Regions from separate parts of the Homo sapiens genome. Here region 1 is linked to region 2. Evidence: promoter capture Hi-C in 16 types of primary human blood cells and fetal thymus (Javierre and others, 2016). All regions are on one chromosome and are shown on one strand. Each heading gives the region's core, a stretch centred on a gene start or on the middle of the fragment in contact. The rest is flanking DNA. Distances are from core to core; before and after follow the strand shown. Region 1 has its middle 13 kb from the start of TOM1L1. Region 2 holds the start of CA10 (carbonic anhydrase 10).

Region 1 (7,157 bases), core at 3,620-6,119, 2.7 Mb before region 2:
AATTAATATATAAACAGAACCAGTGTTACTGCTGTGTAAGCCAACTAAAGTCTAAAATAAATTACCTAAGACAGAAATCCCATGCATTAAGCAATTCTTTGTTTCATTTTTTATTATTGGCTTATCAAGTTTGGGCAATTATTTCATCTACTTAAATTCTAGAATCAGTAATGAATTCTTGTTGATTATAATTCAATCTAGAGCAAGTTTTAAAATTTGGAATATACTTTTTCACTTCTATTTATCATTCATTGTTTCTTAGAAGCTGACTGCAGCATACTTTAAATTATCTGCTTTAAAAAGATAAGTATTACACAGGTTTTTCAATGGGGTGCCCTGGATTTCTTGTGTTTGAAAAATAGAAAACATTTTATACAGGTAGTTTTTTTAACCATGAGAGGGCAGCCTTGTTTAACTTATCGAATTCTCCCAAAGGCCTAGCTGGGCAGCCACATTCTACAGAATGATTCATTGGAGGGGGAGGAGGGCTCCAGGAACCCCAGCCAGCTGTTTTCAGGGTGTTTTATTTGCTGAAGGCTAGTTGCTCTGCTGGGAAGCACATTGATGCTGCTCACTGTTTTTACTCCCTGAGGGTCTTACATTGGCAGTGAAACCTGGTATTACTTATTTAGCAGGCAGATGGGGGGTCCAGGGAAATGAGTTGCTTGGGAAGGTTGACATGTATCAGAAATTAGGTGGCTGCAGGAGGGGATGCTTTCACAAAGGCCATGTCTGGGATTTGAATCTCTGATAACACATACATACCTATAGTTATGCAAACTTTGTGTGTGTGTGTGTGTGTGTTTGTGTGTGAGGTTTATTTATTTATTTATTTGAGACGGAGTCTTGTTCTGTCACCCAGGCTGAAGTGCAGTGGCATAGTCTTGGCTCACTACAACCTCTGCCTCTGGGTTCTAGAGATTCTCCTGCCTCAGCCTCCCAAGTAGCTGGGATTACAGGCATACACCACCACACCCAGCTAATTTTTTTTTTTTTGTACTTTTAGTAGAGACAGGGTTTCACCATGTTTGCCAGGCTGCTCTCAAACTCCTGACCTCCAGTGATCCGCCCACCTGGGCCTCCCAAAGTGTTGGGATTACAGGCATGAGCCACCACACCTGGCCCCAACTTTGAACTATTGTTGGAGACCGTTTGGAGAGGCAAAACCATTAAGAAAGGGGAGAGGTTGAAGGTGGGTCTAACGAGGATGGATGTCACGATCAATCAGCTTAAATCATCAAGGAGATGAAAGGGGATAGTGACTTATATTTTACATGCTTATTAGCTCATTTATTCCTTCCTTCCTTTATCACACATTATTGAATTTTATACAGAGGTACAACATGGACTTCTAAGCCAGTGAGGGAAACTTCCTAGTAAGCAGATCATTGCAGTTCAGTCTAAGTGTTAAACAAAAATATGGACACAGTATCATGGGAGTACAAACCAGGAACTAACTTTGCATGGAGGATTGAGTCCTGGATTAAAGATCTGGGCAGCATAGGGTTAGACCCAGGCCTGTTAGTGTAGGCCTGAGAACAAATAATGTGATGACCAAATAGTGTAATGACCAATGCAACGTAGGGGAAGAGAGCTCTGGTCAGTCTGAAACTCACGTATTCTGTGCCTCACTCTTTTATAGAGACAACTTTTACTTTTCAGTGCTAGCCCATCTCTGTAGTGGTGAGAGCAGTTACAAAGGTGTCCTAGTGTCTTTTACAGTTATAAGTCCTTCTATGTTAGCTTTACCAACTGAGCAATGAGAACATATGACAGCATGCACTCATTCATTCCACAAACACATAATGAAGTCCCCAAATGCGCCAGTCACGATGCTAGGAATTAGTGTATATGAACAAGCTAAAATCCAATCTCTGCATCCCAAGTGCTCAGTGCTCACAATCAAGTAAGGAAGAAATTATAAACCAGTGGACAAAGTTAATTCTTCATGCAGATGGGCAGAAAATTTACTTTTCCTCAAGTCCTTGAGCCTAGTAGTCACACAATGTTTCCTCATTAAGCTTCTTAATTATAAAAAGATCAGGATGAGCTTCAAAAGTAGTAGGGATGAAAGTGGTAGAAATCATAGTATTTTCTATTAGTCTTAGCCCCAAGTTATAAAGTGAATGTCCTACCAACCATGTTCCTTACAAAAACATAGGAACAACAATAGCATTGGTTGCATTCCAGGGCTAAATAGGAATGCAAAACAGGTCATGTACAGTTTTGATATTGCTAAATCAGGGGTTTGCATCGTGATTAGAGTTGCATTCTGATTCATGTTAAAAAAAAAGTTATTAAAGATAGTATAGAATCAGTTTCACTTTTAAATGAATTAATTTATATCTTCATTTAAAATCATATATAAGTATATACTTGTATATACTTTTCATGTAAAATCATACATATATAAGTATATACTTGTATGTGTACATGTTTATTTAGTGTATGGCGTGTATATGGACCAAAGAAGACCAACCTGCAGCTTCCCTGAGATCTTTGGCCTCAGAATATCTGCTATACTCCTGAGCCCTTCCTAAGAAAACCCATTTACAGTTCCTTTCCGGTGCACTTTCTTACACTGAACGCTTATCCGTATTCTCAATCAGGAATCAGCAAATATTGTCTGTAAGAGGCCAGGTAGTAAATATTTTAAGCTCTGCTGGCATCTAGTCAACTCTGTCTGCCATTGTAGCACAAAAGCAGTCATGGACGATATATAAACTAATGAATGTACAAACATAGATGGCAGGTCAGGTTTGCCCTGCAGGTCATACTTGGAAAATCCCTGTGCTGAATCATTCGACCCCAGCATTTTGGCTGATTCGATTAGGAGGGGGCATCCAAAGTAAGGGTGACAAATCTGTTAGCCAGTCCCAATATGTTGGCCTGGCAGGGACCTTGTATGAGATCTTTGTAATAACTGGTGTCTCTAGATAGGCAGACAGATGGACAGACAGAGCAATTGTTAGTGGGATCAGCTGCATCAGGAGCCAAGAGTAATCAGAAGCTATCAGTAAAGTAAAATGAAAATATTTTAAAAAGATAACCAACTAGAGGGTGGGGTAGTTAGTTAATAGGATCGAGACTAGAGAATTGGAGAAAATTCACATTGGTGGGGGTTGTGGGTCTTGGGAATTGTGTGTCCTAAAATAATCTTACCATGATTAATCTGCATTCCACCTTCAGTCTAGCCATCGCTGGGTTCCTGGAGGAGTTATGTTTTTCCTATTTCCACATGTAGCCTCACAGCTGATTTTCCATTGCTAGAGGTAACCTCGATGAATATCTATTTCTGACAACTCCGAAGAGCCTAGGTGACATTCTCTTCTTTCTGTAGGTTGGGAACCAGAGGTGTGTGTCAAATATTTATCAGCAAATATTGGCTACGTTGGGAGATTTCTCCATCATTTGTTTTATACTTTCTGCCTAGTCGCTGAATGGATTGAGTAAGCCTAAGTCATTTTTTTTCTTGAAAATGCACAGCCAGTTTCTCTGGGGGCATTTGACGAGGAGGAAGCATGGATGTGTACCCACCTCAGGCCTGACAGTCACTGCTCAGTGAGGCATCAGGGCCCCATATGGTGAAAACTGTTCCATGACAAGTCTGGTTTATTGCAGTTGTTGCTTCTATTGAAAATCTTGAGGAAAAACTTTTCATGTTTCTCACCTGAGTGCAGTGAAGGTTTCTGGACTGCCTGGGAAAAGGTTTAAAGGAAGGTTACATTATTAATCAATACGCTTTTATGCCCAGTTATCTCTGACCAGAGATGAGTCCTTCACATTGCTCTTAACAGTTCCTGGAACTTAATTCAACCCTTGTCATCTCTGACAGTGTTTTATGGCCTCCTGCTCTGGCTGCCAATCTTAAGACAACTTCGATTTTGGAAGAAATTTCCATTCTCTTCTTCCACCATACAAGAAAAAAGGTACAATTTTGTAGCTATTCAGGGTAGAAGGACGTTTTATCATTGAAGGAGTGAATTCTTGGATGTGTTAATATATCTCCTTTCATAGGTATGTTGAAGGACATTTTACTTCTGGCTCATTCTTATTTTTTTTATTTTTTATTTTTATTTTTTGAGATGGTGTCTCGCTCTGTCACCCAGGCTGGAGTGCAGTGGTACAATCTCGGCTCACTGCAACCTCTGCCTCCGAGGTTGAAGCGATTCTCCTGCCTCAGCCTCCTGAGTAGCTGGGATTGCAGGCTGTGTCAACATGCCCAGCTAAGTTTTAGTAGAGATGGGGTTTCACCATGTCTGCCAGGCTGGTCTTGAACTCCTGACCTCAGGTGATCCACCCGCCTCAGCCTCCCAAAGTGCTGGGATTACAGGTGGGAGCCACTGCACCTGGCCTCATTATTAAAAAAACAAACAAACAACAACAACAACAGAAAACAGTTAATTGCCAAACGTTGCATAAAACATGGCACCTTGCTTTCAGAAACCGTTTTTTATAAATCTGGATGTACATTAAAGTTCATATGGACCCCCTAGGTATAACCTCTTGAGAACAAGAGAAAATAGACATCACTACCATTATCTTTCTGTTAGAGGCCAATCAGCATTAATAACATACCTGGCATTTGCACACTTGCCATGTGCTAGTCACTGAGGCACAGAGTATTGATAACTTGCCCAAGGTCTCACAGTAAGAAGCAGATACATGTGCAGCACTATCCTGCTTTCATGACATTATGTCCATAAGCTTAGGCTCCAGAAAACTTAAAGGAAGTCTTCATCCACAGAGCATGGAGATCTGAAGGGAAAACCTAGGTGTGAGCAATGAGATATTTCATCTCTCTAAAATTTCCTTTTTTCTGTAAATAGAAGAAATAAGCTCCCCTGAGGATTATATTTCAAGTAAAGAGTCAAGCAGTCACTGCGATGTATTGCTACCCACTGTGTGGCTGCCCTCTATTAGGCACTTTCACAATGAGTTTACAGATCAGAAACAGGCAGTTCAGGGGCCAGCTGATGAGAGATGGACAGAGGCCTGCCTGGGGTATACACTTGTTTTACATGAAGCTTGTCTTTTCTTTATACAGAGCTGTGCTCCATGCTGCTTACATGGCTGTTTCATGTCCTAATTAATTTTGGGGCTCTCTGTTGGATTTTAATTACAGATCTATTAATCCATGGGAAGAGTTGACAGATGCTGTAGGTTGGTCATAGCAAATTACTAGGCAAGTGCTGGGTAGAAAGTCCTGAAGACTCTTAGTAATTGACTCACAAAAAAAACTTGCCACTTGAAAGTGGGGAGCACAACCAGAATATCTTTAGCTACCTAGAACAGCATTTTTAAAAGGAAAGACACCAAGGTGGAAAACACTGACTCAGTTTGGGCTTGCATTTTCTATTGAGGTGGGAAGGGAAAGTTAGGGATGTCATTAATAGAATGAATGAGGATGGGATTGGGCTAGGTCACCTGGAAAAACTTGAGCAAAGTCCCTTGGGATGATATAAACATAATGCAGTCAAAAAAGAATAAACAGTTTATTTCTAGCAGGGTTTGTCCTCAAACCTCAATACAGTCATGCAACACATAAGAACGCTAAGGTCAATAGCAGGTGGCATATCCGATGGTGGTCCCTTAAGATTATAATGGAGCTGAAAAATTCATATCACCTAGTGACATCATAGCTGTCCTAACATTGTAATGCAAAGCATAACTCATGTGTTTGTGGTGACACTGGTGTAAACAAACTTACTGCTCTGCTAGGTTTATAAAAGTATAGCAATATAATTATGCACAGCTCATAATACTGATAATACTAAACAACTATGTTACTGGTTTATATATTTACTATGTTTTTTGTTATTATTTTAGAGTATATTTCTTCTACCTATTAAAAAAATGTTAACTGTAAAACAGCCTCAGGCAGGTCCTTCAGGAGGTATCCAGAAGCATTGTTGTCACAGGAGATGACAGCTCCATGCATGCTATCGCCCCTGAAGACAGTGGGATAAGATGTAGAGGTGGAAGACAGTGACATTGATGATCCTGACCCTGTGTAGGCCTAGGATAATGTGTATGTTTGTGTCTTAGTTTTTAACAAAAAAAGCTTAAAAGTAAACTAATAATAATTTAAAAAATAAAAAAATATAAAGGATATATAGCCTGAATAAGGATATAAAGAAAGAAAATATTTTTGTATGGCTGTACAATGTGTTTGTGTTTTAAGCTAAATGTTATTATAAAAGAGTCAAAAAGTTTAAAAATTAAAATATATGTAAAGTGCATTAGGGTTCTCTAGAGGAACAGAACTAATAGCATATGTGTGTGTGTATGTGTGTGTGTGTGTGTGTGTGTGTGTGTGTGTATATATATAAAGGGGAGTTTATTAAGTATTAACTTACATGATCACAAGGTCCTACAAGGCTGTCTGCAAGCTCAAGGAGCAAGGAGAGCCAGTCCCAGTCTCAAACTGGAAGAACCTGGAGTCTGATGTTCGAGGCCAGGAAGCATCCAGCATGGGAGAAAGATGTAGGCTGGAAGGCGAGGCCAGTCTTGCCTTTTCACGTTTTTCTGCCTGCTTTATATTGGCTGGCAGCTGATTAGGTAGTGTCCACCAGATTAAGGGTGGGTCTGCCTTCCCCAGCCCACTGACTCAAATGTTAATCTCCTTTGGCAACACCCTCACAGACACACCCAGGATCAACACTTTGCATCCTGCAATCCACTAAAGTTGACACTCAGTATTAACCATCACATAAAGTAAAAAAGTTACAGTAAGCTAATGTTAATTTATTATTAAAGCAAATACTTAAAATAAATTTAGTGTAGCCTAAGTGTACAGTGTTTCCATAGTCTACAGTGGTGTACAGTAATGTCCTAGCTTTAACATTCAGTCACCACTCACACCCTAACTCACCCAGAGCAACTTCCAGTCCTGCAAGCTCCATTCGTGGTAGGTGCCCCATACACGTGTAGCATTTTTTAATCTCCTACCGCATTTTTACTGTACCTTTTCTATGTTTAAATATGTTTAGGTGTGCAAATACCTGCCATTGTGTTCCAGTTGCCTACAGTATTCAGTAGAATAACATGTTGTGTAGGTCTGTAGCCGAGGAGCAATAGGCTATACCATCTAGCCTAGGTATATAGTAGCCTAAACTGTTTAGGTTTGTGTAAGTACACTGTGTGGTGTTTGCACA
Region 2 (6,708 bases), core at 4,095-6,594:
TGCATGAGAGTTCCAGCTGCCCCACATTCTCACCAACTCTTGGTATTGTTTTTTATTTTGTTTTGCTTTGTTTTTAGTTTTAGCCAAACTAATATATGTATACTGGTATCTCATTGGAGTTTTAATTTTTATTTTCCTAATGACTAATAACGTTGAGCATTTTTCTATATTCTTAATTGCCATTACTATATCTTTATGGTAAAGTGTCTATTCAAATCATTTGCCCATTTTAAAATTTTTGTTTTAATAAATTGAGTTTTGAGAATTATTACCTATTTTGCTTACAAGTCATTTGTGCCATATATAATTTCCCAATATTTTCTCTTAGATTATGACTTTTAAAAATTATTTAAAATTATCTTTTGAAGAATATTAGTTCTTAATTCCAACAAAGTTCAATTATTTTTTAATTAATAATGATATTAGTGTCATCTGTAGAAAATCTTTGTCTAACCCAAACTTACAAAGATTTTCTTTTATTTATTTTGAGTAGTTTTAAAGGCTTGGGTTTTACATTTAGGTTTATAATCCATTTTGAGTTCATCTTTTTTTTATATAGTGTAAGGTATGGATTGTAGTTCATCTTTATTTTTTCTCAAAAATAGACATCGAAATATTGAAAAGGCGATTTGTTAAAAAGACTATTCTTCCTCCAAGGAAATGAGTGTGCACCTTTGTTGAAAATCAACTCAATCAATATATGTCAGACTATTTTTAGACTCTCTCTGTTCTATTGATTTGTCTATATTCTACTACATTGTCTTGTACTACATTGTCTTGATTACTATAGCTTTATAAGCCTTGAAGTTACATAATTTAAATATTCCAGCTTTGTTTATCTTTTTCCAAAGTGTTTTGGCTATTTTAGTTCCCTAGTATTTTTATATGGATTTTAGAAACAGCTTGACAATTTCTATTTAAAAATTTGCTGGGATTTTTATTAGGATTATATTGACTCTATAGATCAGTTTGGGGAAAATTGGTATTTTAACAATATTGAGCTTTCTCATTCATGAACATGGTATATCTTTCCATTTATTTGGGTAATTTTATCTTTTTGGTAGAAGTTAGGGGTAGCTTCATCACTAACTTTTCTTTCCCTCTGGCATCTAAGCAATTAAAAATAGAAACATTTTCTAAATGGGAATGGGACAGTCCTTAAATAGAGCTTGATGTGTTTTGAAGTGGCATTTTCCAATTATTCACCCCAAATTCAAAACTAGAACATCACTTATAAGGATGGTTGGGTCTACAAAGAAGGCTCTAAATATGCTTTCCCAGCCACATGCATGATTGTGACTGGCCCCAGAAAGCTAAGTACTGCAAGAAAGCAGAGACCTTACTAGCTCTGCTCTTTGAGAGTGGCATACAAAATAAATATGCATAGGTACACACACTAAAATTGTGAGCTCACTGTGCCTGAAGGTAGCATTACCAAGAAAATAGAGAAGTGGGAAGAGGTATAGATTTCCTTTGTCTTCTAATACAGTGTGCTTGGCCTCTGATAAATGCACCCTAATGAAAGTCAAACTCTTAAAAGTTTATCATCAGTTGAGTCATCCCTTCTTCTATGGCGTTGAGTGAAAGAGAAGGTACAGGAAGAACCCAAAGGAATTTAATATTATTCTCTCTTGGAAAATGGAAATATAATTCCTTGCTTTCTATAGGACAATTGGTATCTCTCACACTTGGGTGGGCTTGGCCAAGACTCTCTGTTAAATGTGTAAGATACTTACACTTGATTTGTAGTGCAGAAATGTAGAGGAGTAGGAAAGGAACAAAAGATAAAGGCGGGTATGATGTGGAGAGATTCTTTGTAGTTATTTAGATATACATATAAGCACATTAAAATATGAAAACGTCTAAGAATATTTTCTAGCTTCATGGAATTTTTTTCCCACATTTATTTGGTTTGTTTTTTGGGCTAAAAAAACAACAAAAAAGAGAGGCAGAATTTACTTAAATTTAAAGGCTTCTATTTAATGCATTTTTTTTTACTGAGTTATTTTCTGTATTAAGATGGTGAATTTCTCAGAAAAACATATAGCAACCTACTCTAGAAATGTAGTAGCCTAGAAATGACTCAAAAATGTATGGCTCTTTCTTCTAGCAATTGCTAGTATGGAATCAATATGTTGGGGACTATTGTGTTCACTGCTGTATTCCAAGTGCCAGAACCAGAACTGACATCTAGCAGGTGCCAAAATTCTATCATTAGAAACGCTTTTGATTACTTCTGATTCCCAGTGATCTTTTCCTTATCCCAACTAATGTAGTTGGGTTCTAAATTGCATTGTCTACCATTAAATTTTAATACCACCTTTGATTAACTTCCAGCTGTCATATGTGTACTTCTGTTCTCTTTAAGTGCAAAATAACCTCCCCAAGATGATATTTTTCATTTTACAGAGCATATAAGGAAGTGGTGTGACATGACTTCTGAGTTTAGACTTTCCAGCTATGGTCTCTACACTACTGATTTGCAGCTGTGGAGCCTTGGGCAAATAACTACCCTGGTATTGTTTTATTGTCAGTAAAAGGGAAGTGATAATGACATTTATCTCACCATCACATTATGATGATTAAATGAGATAATTTATGTAAGGGATTCAGAATCTTCACACATAGTCTTCACACATAACAATCAATACACATAATACTTCACACACAACAATCAATACACTCAAACTTTTTTTAAACTAACAAATACTGTCATGTGAGTTGCCTTTTTTAAAAACTGAAAGCACTTAGTGGCAGATCACAGATTAAATATTCTTTGGGAATGCTGGAGGTGAGTATGCAGACTGAAAGGGTGGAAATAAAGTATTATTTTACTGGCATTGGCTCTTAAAGCAGAATATAGAGGGATATATGGTCTGCAGATTTTTTTGAAAGCAAGGATAATGCATTTTCAATTACAAAGCCCAAGCATCTTGCCACAGTGTTTGACACATATAAGACACTTAATAATTGCAGAATTCATTAGTAAATGAGTGGGTAGTGACATAAAAATTCAGGCACCATGCTTCTGCTTCCAGAGGAGAGACCTCTTCTGCCAGCCTATCTCCCCACCCAAGCAGGGATGGTAGGTCGCTGTCCACGGTTCTGAACTCTCACCAGGCTGGAATCTGCTCATCTTTGTCAGACTGCTTTTTTTTTTTTCTTTCTCCCTCTCTCCTCAAAAAAAGAAAAAGAAAAAAGAAAAAAGAGAGAAAGAAAGAAAGAAAGAAAGAAAGAAAGAAAGAAAGAAAGAAAGAAAGAAAAAATAATAATAATTCTTCATGCAGTCTACTTTCAAGGCACGGAGACAAATGCCCCCATATATTTCCCAAATGGGCTAATTCTCACTATCCGGAATTCTTTTAATGTTCTGAAGTTTCATGCTTTTCCCTGCTGAGCCTGGAAGCTCTCTACATAAGAATGCTGGATTTATTTCATCTGGGCCTAGATTTTTAATGTGTTGACCACCTAGAGTCCTTGGCCTTTGTTTCACAGAACAGATCTCACGGCCACATCTCCTTCTTTAAGAGTAGGCAGGTCTGTCGGCGGTTCCTTTTTCGAATCCCTAGAGTCGGTGGGACTACGTAGCTCTGGCTCCCGCAGCCGCCCAGCCCAGACAGCTCAGAGAGCTGCTGATCTGCTCTGCGTTCTCTCTTTTTCCTCCCTCTTCTCCCCGCCACTCAGCAAAAAGACCCGCCAGACTCCTGGGCAGTTGGAGTCCCTTCAAGAACCCTGGGAGCACTGTAATGTAACTCCTTTAGCTCCCACTCCGCACCCTCAGATGTCGCACAGCCTGGGTGCTGGGATCAACACGGGAAGATTCACTAGATTGACTCTGTGCGGATGAACGGGCACCCTTTCCTTCCCCTCCTCCATCTCCACTTATCTACCCTTTGTGCAGTTCTTAGACCGAGGTTTATACTGAAATAGCTTCTAAACATCAAATATTAAAAGTGGATAAAAAATCCCCGCGGGGTATGTGTGTGTTTGTGTTTGTTATGTGTGTGTTCATCCGCGCTTGTGCAAAATCTCCTAACGTCACAGTTCCCAATCGGGACAAGCGCGCCGAGAAATCCTGGATCTTCCCAGGGATTCCCTCTACGCTCCCTCCTCTTCTTCAATAACCCCAAAGAGGTAGGTTTGAGCTTTCGCAAACCACCACTGCAGCGATGGAAGCAGACAAATCTGTTGAGATTTTGTCTTTCCCCTTTCGTTCCCAGCCCTCTTAGGCAAGCAGTTCTGAGCACAGGGTTTTCTTCAATTCCCCTGCATCCACACTGCAACCGGGTGCAAGTCTTTCCTAGGTTATAGACAGCCCGCCTCCCCACGAGACCTTCTGCGGACTGGCTGCCCCTGGCCTCGGCCTGGGTGGGTGGGTGGTGCTCGCGCCGCCCCTACTTTCCCCTGGGGCCCTGGAGAGCCGCGCGCTGGGTGTGTGTGTGTGTGCGCGCGCGGGTTTGGTGGGGAAATCTCCTTCAGTGGAAGCTGCTGAGTGTCGTTGGCGGAAAGTATCCTGGAGCCCAGCAAAAGCCTCCAAAGCACTAGAGCTTCCCTAAAGAAAAGCAGAATAAAAGAAAGACAAGAAGGGAAGCCCGTTCCTCTAAAGCCCGGGTTTCCAATAGTCCCGGATCCTCCTGGAGTTGGGCGAAGGCGCAGTTGGCAGCAGCCGCTGCTGGCACCCGGACTTGGAAAGGCGGTGTTCCCCCTTTTCGGGAGGAGGGAGGCAGGGACTTGCAGGCAAGAGTTGCACCTGGTCTAGGAACCTGCAGAGAAAAGAACTCTGGGGTAAGTAGTGTTCTGGCACTGGCACGGAAAGGGGTAAAGGGTGGGGGGCATGAGAGGGACGAAATGGAGAGGGCAGGGAATGAATTATGCAAAAAAATCTCCAATATTTCGCAGCGGAGGGAGAGCACAGCACAGCACTCCCAGGATGAGTCCTGCCTGGGTCTCCCGCGCCGAACCCGCAGCACGAAGTTCTTTTTAAGAAGAGAAACTCGAAAATCCTGGAGGGTAACAGAGGCAGCCAGGGCGGGGCGGAGTGCGGAGGCGGCTGCCAGGGACTGGGGCCGAGGCGGCGGCCAAGGTGGCCTGAAGCTGTGACACCCAGCCTCCTCCTCCTCCTCCTCATGGCCGCGCTCAGCCTCACCTCCCCGCCCGGGCCTCCTGCCTCCGCCCCCGGGTGCCGGGCTGCGGAGCTGACGCTGGGACGCCCGGCGGCGGCGAGGACGCTCACCTGGCCAAGCCTCCTTCTCCTCCTCCCCCTCCCGCCCCCACCTGTCCTCCTCCTCTCTGAGTTGGGAAGCGTAGGGATCCGTAGGCGAGGAAATAACGACCCCTGCAGTTGTATTGCGGAAAATCTCGACAGCGGCGCTAGTTGCGGGCGATGGAAGCCAGGCAACTGGGGGTTCTGGGGAGTTCAGGAAAATAGCAGAGGAGCAGGAAGGGCGCGCGCGACCTGGAGAGTCTGTGTGCCCCCACCGCGCCCCAGTCCCCGGGGCCCAGCCCTTCCCCTCGGCGCCCTGGACGCACTGCCGGAACCCGGCTGAGAGGCTGCAGGCTGCGCGCGGACCTGGGGAGCAGGGAGGGTCGGCGGAGGCTGCCGGCGGCTGGCGGTTTCGGGCAATAATCCCTGCCTCTCTTTCTCTGTGTGTCTGCTGTGTCTGCTCCTTCCCCGCCCCCCGGAAGCAGGAGAAGAACTGCCCCGGAGCGCAGCAGCCACCCTCCGACCATGCCCCGGTGAGGGGGGCGGACTTCGAGGGCAACTTGCCGCGGACTGCCTGGGCTTAGCCAGCGAGCTACGCGCTCCCGGGAGCCCGGAATTGCACGGCGCAGCCCGGCGGGGGGCTATCGTCTATGTCTTCTTGGGGCGCCAGACGAATCGGGGTCTCGTTTTTGCTGGAAGAGCCCAGTGTTGGTGGCTTCAGGTGGCTGCTGCCGCCGCCGCCGCCGCCGCCGCTGCTAGTGCGGTTTCCGCCGCTGGTGCGAAGAGAAGAGACACGCGAGCGGGGAGACCTCCAAGGCAGCGAGGCATCGGACATGTGTCAGCACATCTGGGGCGCACATCCGTCGAGCCCGAGGGGAGATTTGCCGGAACAATTCAAACTGCGATATTGATCTTGGGGGTGACTGTCCCTGGCCGGCTGTCGGGTGGGAGTGCGAGTGTGCACTCGCTCGGAAGTGTGTGCGAGTGTGTATGTGTGTGTGCCGTGTCGGGCTCCCCCCTTCCCCCCGTTTTCCCGTCGAGTGATGCACTTGGAATGAGAATCAGAGGATGGAAATAGTCTGGGAGGTGCTTTTTCTTCTTCAAGCCAATTTCATCGTCTGCATATCAGGTACGGGACGCGCCGAAGTCACTGGCTGATTTGGATTATGTTGTGATGTCTGGGGTGTATGGGGTTTTATTGTATATAGCCGCGGGGCAGAGAGAGGGGTGGCGAGACCCTTTGAGTTCTGCGGGTTTGCCGCCTTCAGAATCAAAAATCTTCTCAGCCCAAGGGTGTGTGAATGTGTGTGTTTTGCGGGGGGGGGTGGTTAGGATCTGTGTGCAGTCCTAGAAGGGTGAAGGAAAAAGTGGTGGGGGATGAGAAAGAAGAGGCAGATGGGTGTTGATTTTCAACTGCTTTCCTGGCTGAGAACTCTGGCGCCGAAATCCGAGCCTTGGCAACAACCACCCCCATCCCCTGGCTTTCAAAGTTCCCAGACTCGGTG

What was found. The method cuts DNA at HindIII sites, captures the fragments that hold promoters and counts their contacts. A CHiCAGO score of 5 or more calls a contact.
Region 1: a fragment that was not itself captured here is called in contact with the fragment with the promoter of CA10 in region 2 in 2 of 17 cell types (M2 macrophages and erythroblasts); the score reaches 5.4 in M2 macrophages.

Annotation. Positions count from the first base shown.
Region 1 is chr17:54,884,665-54,891,821 of GRCh38, reverse strand. No RefSeq gene overlaps it. Among named protein-coding and RNA genes, the nearest start is that of TOM1L1, 13 kb to the left of the region's middle. The HindIII fragment of the contact is 320 bases long and covers 4,710-5,029 here.
Region 2 is chr17:52,157,350-52,164,057 of GRCh38, reverse strand. CA10 (carbonic anhydrase 10) reads left to right here and starts at 5,344. Exons shown (of 9, transcript NM_020178.5): 1 at 5,344-6,332. The coding sequence starts at 6,272. RefSeq lists a silencer at 4,495-4,789. The HindIII fragment of the contact is 15,466 bases long and covers 1-6,708 here.